Linked DNA regions of Homo sapiens: region 2 is linked to region 1. The links are contacts of gene promoters, found by promoter capture Hi-C in blood cells and fetal thymus (Javierre and others, 2016). All regions are on one chromosome and are shown on one strand. The core of a region is centred on a gene start or on the middle of the fragment in contact, and the rest is flanking DNA. Distances in the headings are between cores, read along the strand shown.

Region 1 (4,302 bases), core at 607-3,106:
CCAGAAATATGCTGTAGGAACTTAGCTCTTGTTTATATTAATTAGCCTGTGGTAAAATTGGTTTTGTTATACGTTGTTTCACTTAGTCCCAGTTGCCAAGGACCTACCAATGATGTTAAATGAGGACCTACTGTACTACATAATTCACTTATTTATTGTGTTTATTTTTGTCTGTGTCCTCTCACTAGGAGGTAAGCTCCCCAAGGGCAGGGATTTGTTCTGTTTGTTCTGTTTTATTTTGTTTCCTGCTATATCCCCAAATCCTACAACAGTGTCTGGCACACAGCAAGTGTTCCACGCATATTTGTTGAATTAAGAATGAATCTCTGAGGGCCGGGCACAGTGGATCACACCTGCAATCCCAGCACTTTGGGAGGCCAAGGTGGGTGGATCACTTGACGTCGGGAGTTCGAGACCAGCCTGGCCAACGTGATGAAACCCCATCTCTACTAAGAAAATACAAAAATTAGCCGGGCGTGGTGGCAGGAGCCTGTAGTCCTAGCTACTAGGGAGACTGAGAGGCAGGAGAATCGTTTGAACCTGGGAAGCTGAGGTTGCAGTGAGCTGAGATCACGCCACTGCACTCCAGCCTGGGTGACAGAATGAGAATCCATCTCAAAAAAAAAAAAAAAAAAAAAAAAGAACCTCTGTATCCCTAATACCTAGGTCAAGGTCTTGCACAGAGCAGGTGCTCAATGAATATTTGCTGAATTGAACTGAGATGTAAATTCTGCAGGAGAACTTAGAATAGACCTGTCGTACTAGAGTGGTTCACAGCGTGGACTCTGGAGTCAAATAATCAGGATTTGCATCCTGATTCTGTCACTTCCAGCTGTGTTACCTAGCTGTGTTAACATCTTTGAGCCTCAATTTCTCATTGGTAAAATGAAGATAATAATAGCATCAGCTTGGTAGGATTTGGGTTTGCGTGTTATGCACTTAGGACTTTGTAAAGACCCAATAATTGGTAGCTAAAAACAAAACAAGAACTGCAAAAAAGATAGTCTTTCTTGTATGTCATCCTTCCTCCATTCCCCCGACAAGCTGAGCCAGGAGAGGGTAAGGAGATGTCCTTGGACAAGTATTCCTAAGCTCTATTCCAGACCCATAGAAGGGTTTCTCTCTCTTCAAATCCCTTCTTACCTTTTCACCTGTCCTGGACTTTCATCTTGATATCCTGAAGTTCCTTCCCCCATCATAACCATGCAGGGGTGGAGTGGAGGAGATAGGGGTTTGTGGGCCAGGGACAAGGACTTAGAGCTTTCTGTTAATCCCTGTTCTAGGGTTGAGTTCTTTACTGGTGATGGTAGAAGGTCAAGTGTGAGGTCACAGTAATTTCAGGGCCTAGAGACTGAGAGAACAATAGTCTTGTGTAGGAGGCATTGACAGGACAGCGGGCCTCATATGCTGCCTTCTTCTTTGGTCCCCTGTAAGAGAAAGCACCTCCCTCACCCTGCTCCAACGTCCTTTCTGTCCATCCTGCTACCTCGTCTTTACTTCTGGTGGCCCCAGCTCAGAGCAAGCCTGGGGACCCATTGAACATCTCCCTGCAACTCCCTCTTGGAAGTGGGGTGGGGTGGAGTGGGCAGAGGACAGGCTAAAACTGGCGATATAAGGGCACAAGATCGGGTGCCTGAGCTTTCTGGTGGCCCACGTCCTCTGCCCCCGCCCTTAGAGCCAACAGTTCCCTAGAGATTGGGGGAGCTGGGGCTGAGCCTGGGGGCGCCGCTGCCTCTGTTCCTTTAAGTAGCCGCTGTTTAGCATTCCTGCCGCCGCCGCTGCCGCTGCCGCTGCCTGCCTCTGCGCGCTGATTGGCTGGAATCAACTGAGAAGGGAGCCAGGGAGAGATGCTCTTGACTCCACTCAGATCCATCCTGGGGACCAGAGCAGAAGCGGTCCTCACAGCACCCATTCTCTGCTTGAGCTCCCGCTTCTTCTTTGCCGCTGGGCCTCGGCCCAGAAGCCACGACGGGCGACACGGAGCCGCCAGTGCTGGAGGGGGAGCCGTGGGTGCGGGGCAGCGTGGGGGCCGAGGCCCCGGGACGCCCGCCCGGCCCCAGGCCCCGCTCAGCCCGGGCGCCCCCACGGGTGCCCCCCCCTTCTTGGTCCGAGCAGTGTGAGTGTGCCAGGGAGCCCGGCGGCGGCGGCGGCGGTGGTGGCGGCGGTGGCGGCGGCGTGGAATCCGGCGTGGGCTGGGGGGTCCGAGCCGCGGGGGGCAGTGCCATGCACAAGCACCAGCACTGCTGTAAGTGCCCTGAGTGCTATGAGGTGACCCGCCTGGCCGCCCTGCGGCGCCTCGAGCCTCCGGGCTACGGCGACTGGCAAGTCCCCGACCCTTACGGGCCAGGTGGGGGCAACGGCGCCAGCGCGGGTTATGGGGGCTACAGCTCGCAGACCTTGCCCTCGCAGGCGGGGGCCACCCCCACCCCTCGCACCAAGGCCAAGCTCATCCCCACCGGCCGGGATGTGGGGCCGGTGCCTCCTAAGCCAGTCCCGGGCAAGAGCACCCCCAAACTCAACGGCAGCGGCCCCAGCTGGTGGCCAGAGTGCACCTGTACCAACCGGGACTGGTATGAGCAGGTATGGACCAGCGGAGGGGGGAGCGGTGGGGCAACCCAGGAGGGCTGGAGAGTGGGGGCCTAGAGGCCTGGGATGCAGTAGGGGTCGCTGGGGCTCCAAGCCTGTGGACCCCGAGCCCTAGCATTGCAGCTGGGCAAAGAGAGGCGGTGGGAAATGTGTGGTTCCCTGTGTGTGTCTGTTTGGGGGTCTCCATTAGAAGACTGGGAGGAGCCGTGTGTCAGGGGGTAAGGGCATGGCGGAGGGGCACATTTTCCTGTGTGGGGGAATTGGGTTTGTCTCAGTGTGGGGGTTTGGCAATGTCTCTGTGTCTGGCAGGGGGCGGGAGGTTCTGCGGGGGCTGTGTGTGGTGTGTGTCTCCACCGGAGGGGAGGGGAGGGGGCATGGTGCTCTGCGTAGGGGGGACATATGTGTGTGTATGTATGTTGGGGTGTGTGGAGGAAGGCAATGGAGCTGCCGTGAATCCGTGTGGAGGAGCCCATGTGCCCGGCTCGCTGAGCTTCATCCCTTGATGCCATGAGTCCCTCTCCGTCCCAGTCCCTTTGTGTGTGAATGTGCACATGGATGTGTGGAGATGTCACTCTGAATGTGGAGAGGTCTCTGTAGAGGAGGCTGCAGGGATGGCTGTGTTTGTGTGTGTGGCTACATGTATATGTGTGTGAGCATGTGGCTGCAAGAGTGTGCACGCGTGTGCCTGGTGTGTGTGTGTGAGTGTGTGTTTGTATGTGTTGTCTCTGGTGAGAGGCGCTTGACAGGCAAGGGAGGGGAGAGGAAGGAGGCGAGAGACATGTCCCAAGCAAGGCTGAGAGGCTGCTGAGAAGGACGGACTCTTTTGTCCAAGCAGCTCTGTAGTGTGTGTGCCGGGGTGGGGTGGCGGGGGGCGGGGGGAGATTTGAAGGAACTGAAGCAAGCCTCCTCGCTCTAGAGCAGGCATGGTGCCTGGAGCCGGCAAGGGGCAGCTGCCCTGGTGCAGAGACTGGCCCCAGTGGGGCATGTCCCCCTTGGGTACCTCCAGATGTGAGAGGGCTTAGCCCCCCAGCCCTGACTTGGCACAGCTTGGGAGCCCCTGGGTGCTGGGCACAACTCCGGCTTCCACTCCCAGCCTAAACTGCCAGCTTAGAAAATGGAAGGAGCATCTGTGGGAGAAGCAGCAAAATGGAGGCTGGGCTGGCAGAGCCAGGTCCCTGGCACGCAAGGCGGAGGGCCTGTCTGGTTATCCGGCTCTGCAGCTCCTAGGGTGGGGAGAGAGGAAGAGGAGGCTTTGCTGTCGAGGGCAGGTGATGACTTCCCCAAGCTGGTGACCGTTCTGGCTGCCTCTGTCCTCTGGGGATAGGATGTGCTCTCACTCAGAGGCAAAGGTGGGGACTTCCTGGGGAGAAGAGCCCTCAGTTCTGGCCTTCTGTCTGTCCACACTTACTGCTTTCCCACATCCCTTGCCTTGGCCTCTTGCCCTTTCCAGCGAGTCCCTCTCTCTCCTTTGCCCCCTCTCTGTCCTGGAGGCCTTTCTCTCGCAAACACCCTCTTATGCTTGTCCTGCCCGGCTGGGAGACAGGTGGCAATCCCAGGCTGGGCCAGTTGGCCAAGGTTTCTTTGCCAGGGCTGATCCCTGGATGGCTCCTGGCCCTGAGAACAAGGTCCTTGAGTAGGGGTGGGGGCTAGAGCGTGGACCACTGGGAACGGGAAGCCTCTGGGTACCACTGGGGCTGGGCTTGAGGCATGGCTTGT
Region 2 (4,193 bases), core at 1,359-3,858, 93 kb after region 1:
CCTATAATCCCAGCACTTTGGAAGGCCAAGGAGGGTGAGTTGCTTGAGCTCAGAAGGTTGAGACCAGCCTAGGAGACATGGTGAAACCGCATCTCTACCAAACATACAAAAAATTAGCTGGGTGTAGTGGCATGTGCCTGTAGTCTCAGCTACTTGGGAGGCTGAGGTGGGAGGATCTCTTGAGCCCAGGAGGTCAAGGCTACAGTGAACCATCATCATGCCATTGCACTCCAGCCTGGGTGACGGAGTGAAACTCCATTTCAAAAAAAAACCCACAAAACTTATGGGTTTTTTTTTTTTTCATAGAGACAGAGTGTCACTTTATTGCCCAGGCTGGTCCCAAACTTCTGGCTTCAAGTGAACCTCCCACCTCGGCCTCCCAAAGTGCTGGGATTACATGCATGAGCCACTCCACCAGGCCTAAAATGTTTTGTGGTATCTTGTGCTATTTATTAATTCATGTAACCAAAACTATTTGTTTCTTATACAGCTTCTGAGTGGGTCCTCTCCATTCCATGATTTAAAAAAATGCTTTCCTCTGTTTTTTCCTAATGCTTTTATAGCTTTGATTTTATGTTTAGCTCTTTAATCTATCTGGATTTTCTTTATTTCTTCCTTTTGGACTTTATTTTTGTGCATGGTATAAGGCAAAAAAATAATACTATCACTTATATAGTACTTACTATGTGCTGCTATAAGTACTTTATATATATTAAGTTATTTAATACTAATAATACTGTAAGGTAGGCACTTTTTTTAGCTTTTATTTATTTATTTATTTTTCATAGAGACAAGATCTCGCTATGTTGGCCAGGCTGGTCTTGAACTTCTGGCCTCAAGCGATACTCCTGCCTTTGCCTCCCAAAGTGCTGAGATTATTATTATATTTATTTTACAGATGAGGATACAGAGGTATACATAATTAATTAATAAGACCAAAGTCATACAGCTAATAAATGGTGTAGCCAGAATTTATTTGAACTGGTTATGTGGCTCCAAAGTCTGTTCTCTTAACCACTATGCTATAACGCCCCTCAGTTTAAAAATAAGGACGTAACTTTGCTTTTTAAATTGTCCCAATACCATTTTACCAATTGTTCCCTCAGTGATGTGATATACCTTTTCCATTGCATACAAAATTCTCATAGATATGTGGATCTCCTTCTGGGCTCAGTCCTGTTCTATTAATCTCTTTGTAGATTTTTGCACTAATGCCATACTTTTAAAATTAATATCATTTTATAGTTTTAAAAGTATTTGATAAGGCAAGTCCTTCCTTGTTCTTTTACAAAAAATGTTTTGGTTCATTTTCTTTTAGGGAAGAATTTTAGAATCATCAAGTTTCATTAAAAATCCTATTGAGATTTTAATTTTGACTGAATTTATTGCATTGAATTTAGGGAAACTGACTTTATACTGTTAGGGCTTTCCTGTCCAAGAACATGGTATATATTTCCATTTGTTTGAGACTTATGCATTCTTGAAAGCAGAATGGAACCATCTGTAGGCAGAGAGTAAAAATGATGGACAGGCAGTAAAATGCCTCAGGAAGTAGAAGGGGATTGAACTGACAGTGCAAGGTTGAGAAAATTTCTTTTGAAAAAAGAGGAAAGGTGAGTAGGTAGGTACAGTGGTAGAATGTTATGGTTGAGACATGGGCCAATGAGGGATCTCATATGTGATGCCCTTGATCTTCTCAACTGAAATGATATGATGAGATCATCTAATGGGGAATGAGGTAGGTCTAAGTTTTTACGAGATTAGAAAAGGTTTGAAGCAGCCACTTTACTTGAGTTTGCCAAAAAGTTGACAAGAATAAAAGAATTTCTGAGCAGCAATGAGAACCCACTGAAAGCTTAACAGAATGAATCTGTACTGGGCCAGATCTAGATGGTTCTGTAACTTTCTTTAGTGCTTCTGCTGCTCAAGATCAGGAGCAGAAGAACTGATGGTGGCAAGGTACCAGGTTTGGAAAAAAATGAAACAGCAGGAATAATCAAAAGAAGAGAGAAAGAGAGAAGGAAGGGGAGGAAAGAAGGGAGGGAAGAAGGAAGGAAGCAAATAAAGAAATAAAGAAAAGAGAAAGAAAGAAAGGAAAAGAAAGAGAAAAAGAAAAAAAAGGTAGTTAGACTGGACTATAATAGAGTGGGAAAAGACGAGTGATTTGAAGTTCAAGTGAGAACAGAGAATAGATATGGGGAAGTAAGGGAGATTAGACTCAATAGAAAAGTGTTGCGTTAGTTACCAATCTTGAAGATGGAGCAGTGCCACAGTGGGTGGCTTATATGGGAGGTAGACAGTGGCTAAAAAGTGAAAAACGGAAACTGTGAGGTACAAGAATTGCTAACATGGATGCCAAAGTCACTTAGGATAATAAATAACAATGAAGTTACCAAGGAAGGAAAAGGTGGGTCCAGGACATGACAACATTGGTGATGAAGAGATATAGGTTTTAAGTGAAGAGAAGCCGTAGGAAGGTGGTATATAAATAGTACAAAGTGCCACCATGGAGCAAAGATCCAGGTAATTTAGTCCCTTCTGCTGAGAAAAAGGGAGTTGGAAAAGATGAGACCTCCATAAAAATTCGTAGTGAGGGACACGTTTTCTTCAGGGAAGATTCTGCTTTGTTCTAAGAAGAAGGGAGAGAAGGAGGTGAAGGTTGATGATAAAGAGAATATTGACTATTGCCTGGGAAAAACTCTGTCTTGTTTTGGGGGTTGAATGAGGTTATGGATAGATAGCCTTAAGGGTCTAGGTAAGGATTTGGGAAATACAGAGTTGTTAAAAGATTTGAGGGAAAGGGAGTGATAGAGCAAAAGTTGTGTTTTACGGAGATATATTTGATAGGGATGAACAGGAAAAAATGGAGAAGAGAAGAAAGAGCCAGAGACCAATTAGGAAACTACAAAGCTGTAGGAGAGACACAATATCAAAGTCTGACTCAAAGATGGCTTTGTATGAACCTCAATTCCAGTCTCAGGGAGACGTGAGGCTTGGAAGGAGGAAGATTTAGATGAAAGAAGGCTGGGTGCAGGGGCTCACACCTGTAATCCCAGCACTTTGAGAGGACATGGCAGGAGGATTGCTTGAGCCCAGGAATTTGAGACCAGCCTGGGCAACATAGTAAGACCTCCTCTCAATTAAAAAAATTTTATTAAAAAATAGATGAAAGAAAACCCAAGGACCATTGTCCTATGAAGAAATAACACGGCTGCAATTTTTAGCTTTGCCATTATATAGTGGTATGACCTTGTGTCAGATATTTAACCTTTCAATGCCTCAATTTGCAAAATAATGAGCTTAAATTAGGTAACTGCAAAGATCATTAGTTTCCAGTTCTAAATTTTCTCAGTCATTGAATGAAGCTTTACCTTATATTTCCTTTAGATCCCAATTGCCTAATCTATGAACTTATATAAGATTGGCAGAAGTAGGAACTGAGATGAAATTGAACAAGTAGAAGGCCAAACAAGAGACAAAAGATACTGATAAATGACCTTCTCAAACTTTAATGTGCATACAAGACACTTGGAAATATATATATATATATATATTTTTTTTTTTTTTAAGATGGAGTCTCACTCTGTTGCCCAAGCTGGAGTGCAGTGGTGTGATCTTGGCTCATTGCAATCTCCGCCTCCTAGGTTCAAGCAATTCTTCGGCCTCAGCCTCCCAAGTAGCTGGGATTACAGGCGCCTACCACCACGCCCGGCTAACTTTTGTAATTTTAGTAGAGACAGGGTTTCACCATGATGGCCAGGCTGGTTTTGAACTCTGACCTCAAGTAATCCATCCGCCTCGGCCTCCCAAAGTGCTAGGATTACAGGCATGAGCCACCGTGCCCGGCCGGAAGTATAGTTAAAACGCAGACTGATTCAGTAGGTCTGGGGCCTAAGATTCCATGCTTCTAACAAGCTCCTAGGGGATGCTGATCACGCTTTGGGAAGCAAACTCTTAGAGAATGTAGCTCAGTAGTTTGAATCACCTTAGCTTCCCTTGTAAAAGGAAAGAGTCTGTGTTCTTCTGGGCTTCTTGGTTACAAAACGCCTTTGTGACTCTGTGACTCTGACATCAGCTGTGAGGATTAGGTTTGTCCCTTCTCTTTAAGTGTAGGTTTCCCCCCCACCATTATTTAAGTCTTTGTATATTCTTAAAAATGAACCAAGAAATTTCCACTTCCATGAGATGGAATA

Evidence for each region. The method cuts DNA at HindIII sites, captures the fragments that hold promoters and counts their contacts. A CHiCAGO score of 5 or more calls a contact.
Region 2: a contact is called between a fragment that was not itself captured here and the fragment with the promoter of DLG3 in region 1, in 1 of 17 cell types (M2 macrophages). The highest score is 5.8, in M2 macrophages.

The regions. Positions count from the first base shown.
Region 1 is chrX:70,442,979-70,447,280 of GRCh38, forward strand. It overlaps DLG3 (discs large MAGUK scaffold protein 3), which reads left to right and starts at 1,857. Exons shown (of 19, transcript NM_021120.4): 1 at 1,857-2,580. The coding sequence starts at 2,224. RefSeq lists an enhancer at 1,375-2,161. The HindIII fragment of the contact is 21,076 bases long and covers 1-4,302 here.
Region 2 is chrX:70,535,486-70,539,678 of GRCh38, forward strand. All of the region lies in intron 28 of TEX11 (testis expressed 11), which reads right to left. Among named protein-coding and RNA genes, the nearest start is that of DLG3-AS1, 82 kb to the left of the region's middle. The HindIII fragment of the contact is 1,510 bases long and covers 1,854-3,363 here.